Regions from separate parts of the Homo sapiens genome. Here region 2 is linked to region 1. The links are contacts of gene promoters, found by promoter capture Hi-C in human tissues and cell types (Jung and others, 2019). All regions are on one chromosome and are shown on one strand. Each heading gives the region's core, a stretch centred on a gene start or on the middle of the fragment in contact. The rest is flanking DNA. Distances are from core to core; before and after follow the strand shown.

The links. The method cuts DNA at HindIII sites, captures the fragments that hold promoters and counts their contacts. A contact is called where the count stands out against the background at its distance.
Region 2: a contact is called between a fragment that was not itself captured here and the fragment with the promoter of RNF113B in region 1, in 2 of the 25 tissues and cell types used here (IMR-90 fibroblasts and thymus).

What each region holds. Positions count from the first base shown.
Region 1 is chr13:98,175,860-98,178,559 of GRCh38, reverse strand. It overlaps RNF113B (ring finger protein 113B), which reads left to right and starts at 1,291. Exons shown (of 2, transcript NM_178861.5): 1 at 1,291-2,278; 2 at 2,384-2,700. The coding sequence starts at 1,324. The coding sequence ends at 2,397. All of the region lies in intron 1 of FARP1 (FERM, ARH/RhoGEF and pleckstrin domain protein 1), which reads right to left. The HindIII fragment of the contact is 2,632 bases long and covers 487-2,700 here.
Region 2 is chr13:98,268,399-98,271,098 of GRCh38, reverse strand. All of the region lies in intron 2 of FARP1 (FERM, ARH/RhoGEF and pleckstrin domain protein 1), which reads right to left. Among named protein-coding and RNA genes, the nearest start is that of MIR3170, 61 kb to the right of the region's middle. The HindIII fragment of the contact is 9,127 bases long and covers 1-2,700 here.

The DNA.
Region 1 (2,700 bases), core at 42-2,541:
ATAAATGAATTATTTCACAACTTGAAGATAAACTCAAGAAAAAAAAGGGTTAAAAATATTTGAAGGCGGGGTGCAGTGGCTCACGCCTGTAATACCAACATTTTAGGAGGCCAAGGTGGGTGGATCACCTGAGGTCAGGAGTTCCACACCAGCCTGGCCAACATGGTGAAACCCTGTCGCTACTAAAAACACAGAAGTTAGCTGGGTGTGGTGGCACACACCTGTAATCCCAGCTACTCAGGAGGCTGAGGCAGGAGAATTGCTTGAACCCGGGAGGCAGAGGTTGCAGTGAGCCGGGATCATGTAACTGCACTCCAGCCTGGGCGACAGAGCGAGACTCTTTCTCAAAAAAAAAAAAAAAAAAAAAAAATTAAAAATGATTATCTTAGGTACCAGGAATTGGCGTGTGGAGGGGCCAGGCAGGGGACAGCCAATTTCCATTACAATAAGTGCTTGATAATATTTTTTTAAATGTTTACATGTGTTACTTTTATTTCAAAATGAAAGCCAGCTACACACCCACAGGTGCAGTGTGATATGACAGTCTTTTAATAAAGGCTATATTAAAAGAATAGACACAAAAGTGTTGACAGTGGTTATCTTTGAGGGGAGGGATTATAGGCGTCTTACTTTTTGCTTGTATCTGTTTTTGTTTTCTGCACTGCGCGTGTGTTGCTTTTAAATACGCATTTCAAGCGCCTGTGTTTTAGGATGAGCACCACCGGTTCGCTATGGCCTGGAATGATTCCACCCGTGGCCTTTTAGGAATCTGTTGAAAAATGAGTGTGCACTGAGGGAGCTGAGGAGCAAGTGAAGATGACTCTCTCAAGGAATCCATCTGAGGGCCAGGAGGCAGGTCAAGGGAGGGAAGGGCGGGAGAAGCCTTTTTTTTTGGTTTTTTTTTTTTTAATTTGAGACAGGGTCTCGCTCTGTCACCCAGGCTAGAGTACAGTGGCGTGATCTCGGCTCACTACAACCTCTGCCTCCTGGGTTCAAGCGATTCTTCTGCCTCAGCCTCCCTAGTAGCTGGGACTTCAGGCGCACGCCACCACACCCAGGTAATTTTTGTATTTTTAGTAAGGATGGAGTTTCGCTATGTTGGCCAGGCTGGTCTTAAACTGCTGACCTCGGGTGATTCTCCCACCTCGGCCTCCCAGTGTCCCGGGATTACAAGAGTGAGTCACCGCGCCTGGCCTAGCAGAAGCTTTTCTTTCACTTGCTTTTGCTTTTTAGAACTGGGAGGGCCCACGCCCCACGTGCAGCGACGCAAGGGCGACGCAAGGGTGACGCACGCCACGGCCGTTGGGAGCCTGAGACTCAAACATGGCAGCGCCACCTTCTCCAGGAAGGACGGCCGACCAAGCAGACCAGGTATGCACCTTCCTCTTCAAAAAGCCTGGACGGAAAGGGGCTGCAGGCCTCAGAAAGCGCCCGGCCTGCGACCCCGAGCACGGAGAGAGCAGCAGCAGCGGGGACGAGGGCGACACAGTGGCTCAGCCCCCGCGGGTGGCACCGAGGCCCCGGGGCCTCCACAGCTGGCAGAAGGCGGCTCACGGCGACAGGAGGGGCGAGGAGGCGGCGCCTGAGAGCCTCGACGTGGTGTACAGGTCCACCCGCTCGGCGAAGCCTGTGGGGCCAGAGGACATGGGGGCCACCGCTGACTTCGAGCAGGACACCGAGAAGGAGCACCATACGCCGACCATCCTCAAGTGCAGCCAGCGGGTCCAGGAGGCACTGCGGGGTCGGGAGCACGACCACATCTACCGGGGAATCCACAGCTACCTGAGGTACCTGAAGCCCAAGGACACGTCCATGGGCAACTCCTCCTCGGGGATGGCGAGGAAGGGCCCCATACGTGCGCCAGGGCATCTGCGCGCCACTGTGCGCTGGGATTACCAGCCTGACATCTGCAAGGACTACAAGGAGACTGGCTTCTGTGGCTTCGGGGACAGCTGCAAATTCCTCCACGACCGTTCCGATTACAAGCTCGGGTGGGAGATTGAACGGGAGCTTGAAGAGGGTCGCTACTGTATCTGCGAGGACGAAAACCATGAAGTGGGAAGCGAGGAAGAGGAAATACCATTCAGGTGTTTCATATGTCGCCAGGCCTTCCAAAACCCAGTCGTCACCAAGTGCAGGCATTATTTCTGCGAGAGCTGCGCGCTGGAGCACTTCCGGGCCACCCCGCGCTGCTACATCTGTGACCAGCCAACCGGCGGCATCTTTAACCCCGCCAAAGAACTGATGGCGAAACTGCAAAAGCTTCAGGCTGCAGAAGGTGGGGGCAAGTCCCATTTCACAGAAGACCCCCATGAGTGTCCAATTCCCATGGCTTAGGTTTCCCATAATTCTCACATTTAAATAAATTTTTTTGTTCTTTTAGGAAAAAAGAGATAAGAAAGACTCAAGTCTGTATGTACACTGGGGAGAAGCAGCCTGTTGAGTAAGATGAGAGAGATGACAGTCTTCCTGCAATCCCATGCCTGAGTATGTAACCAAAAGAATTGAAATCCGGATCTCAAAGAGGTATGTGCACTCCCATGTTCACTGCAGAATTATTTGCAAAAGCCAAGAGGTGTAAACAACCCAAGTGTCCATGGATGGATGAATGGACAAACAAAATGCGATACACACACACAATGGAATGCTATTAAGCCTTAACGGGAAGGAAATCCTTTTAAAGATTTAAACTGATCCTTT
Region 2 (2,700 bases), core at 39-2,538, 93 kb before region 1:
TTCAGCTCTTCTGTCATCCTGACTTGGGAAATTATTGAGACATCAGCAAAATGTATAATCGTCTTCATGAAAAGAGAGCTCACACAACTGCAATTCGCCTCGTCTTACATCATGATTTCTGATTCAGAGGACAGCAATGTAAAACCGTGAAGAAACGATGGCTCAGAGGGTGGCATCTAGACTCGTACCCTGGCCTGCCCTCGGGGCCCCTGCTCTCTGCAGTATACCACACCATCTCTGTACACTGCCTTGCGTGAATGTTCCATTTAGAAGAGAAGAGAGAAAAGAAAAAAATTAAAAGATATACATGCTTAGTTTCCCAATTTCTAAGTTGTCCCAATTCTCAGGCTAAGAAATCTGTTCTCATGACATAAAGTTAGCCATGTGCAGGATGAGTTAACTGATCTAGATCATGAAAATATTCACCATCCTGCATTGCTCCTCAACAAGTTTCAGTCAGGCTATCATGAAGCTGGTATCTGCAAACTCATCGGTTTCCTGCACACAGAGGAACTCTCAAGGTGCCAGGAGCTACCTCATTTCTAGGAAGGGAGCTGCGTCCTCAGGATGAGCATTCAACAAAATGAATTCTCCCAAGGAAGATACGCTGAGGCATTGTAAGTCATGAATAGTTTAAAAACCAGGACCCTACAATGCCCATGTCCACATTTAAAACCAGATGTGCAATCTTACATGTTCATATAAAGAATTTAGAGCACCGAGAGCTCTTGGAAAATAAGCACAAAACCCTTTTGACGGATATACTACTTGTATATTACTGAGGATGTGTGAACAGCTCAATCTTCATTCAACTGTCATAGAGACCAAGGATGGACCTTGACCAAATGAGAAGGGATGGGCTTAACACATGTTCTTCTATGGTCAAATGTGCAAGAAAGCACCACTGGAAAATCACCTAAATTTACCCAAGAAAAACAATTTTCTTGGTATTCAAGATAAACATAAAGCCAATTTTATGTACTGCATTTCTCCTTCTATAAAATTACCTATTCTCAAAAGCCTTTCAGTTAGATTCAGTGATCTCAGCTCACTGCAACCTCCGCCTCTCAGGTTCAAGTGATTCTCTGGCCTCAGCCTCCCAAGTAGTTGGGACTACAGGCGTGCACTACCAAGCCCGGCTAATTTTGTATTTTTAGTAGAGACATGTTGCTCAGGCCCGTCTCAAACTCCTGAACTCAAAGTGATCCACCCACCTCGGCCTTCCAAAGTGCTGGAATTACAGGCGTGAGCCACTGGGCCCAGCCCATGGTAAGTCTTAAATAAATAACAACTGAATTTTATTCTTACCTGAACCAACATCTTCGCTGACACCCCCCGACCACTCACTCAGGCAATATAGTCCCAGTAGTTAAGAAAAATAGTAACAAATTAAATTTTCTCTTCCCCAACCCCTTCCTTGACAAACAACAAGGTCAAGAATGAGCAGTCACTGAAAGCTAAATATTATGTTGACCCAAGAGTGGGACAAGGTTCAGTGTTTCTGGGCCTGACAGGCCCCTCATGAGCCTCATGTCCTCATTTGCCAAAAGCAAATAGAAATATCTGCCCCATCAATTTCATAGGGCTGCTGTGGATGAGTCTGTTGAGATGCCAAATGGCTTAGAACACAGTACACGAATGTAAGCACTAGTAACTAGAATCATCTTGGCGGGGAGGGCCTCAAAATCTGAACTTAATGAACAGAAATGACCACTCAATTCAAGCTCATTTTCCTGCTAAAAGAATCCATGAAGATTTTGTTTATACTTAAGTTATCCACTTAACTACTTTTATCCTTTTTCACAGATAATGAAAGAGCATCAAAAAGCAGCTCATGACATTCACCTAGAAAGATCACCATTAGAACTGCAGGGAGATATATTTAGATGAGGTTGACTGACTGAGGGAAGGTAGGGTAGAAACAAGCATATCAAGGGTCAGGGCAGTTCATTTTACCATAATTTTAATATTAAAACAAAGCCAGTAAATTACCAATATTTATTAAATACTATAGCTGCACAATAAAGCCATCCACAGAGTCCCTTAACTCAGCTACCAGAAGGGAGAGGCTGGGCATGATGGCTCATGCCTGTAATCCCAGAACTTTGGGAGGCCAAGGCAGGAGTATCCCTTGAGCCCAGGAGTTCAAGACCAGCCTGGGGAATATGGCGAAACCTCGTTTCTACAAATAAAAATAAAAATAAAAAAATAAAAATAAATAAAAATTAGCCGAGCGTGGTGGCACATACCTGTAGTCTCAGCTACTTGGGAAGCTGTATACACACACACACACACACACACACACACACACACACACACAAAGAAGGGAAAGGCCAGATGCAGTAGCTCACACCTGTAATCCCAGCACTTTGGCAAGCCAAGGCAAGAGGATCACTTGAGGTCAGAAGTTCGAGACCATCCTGGCCAACATGATGAAACCCTGTCTCTACTAAAAATACAAAAATTAGCCGGGCGTGTTGGTGGGCGCCTGTAATCCCAGGTACTCAGGAGGCTGACGCAGGAGAATCATTTGAACCCAGGAGGTGGAGGTTGCAGTGAGCTGAGATCGCGCCACTGCACTCCAGCCTGGGTGACAGAGCGAGACTCCATCTCAAAAAATAAAAGAGAAGGGAGAAACAGAATCTTTAGTCAGCGTAGATGTGCTTTGGGGAGTGGGAAGAGGTTTCTGCTGGCCAGTAT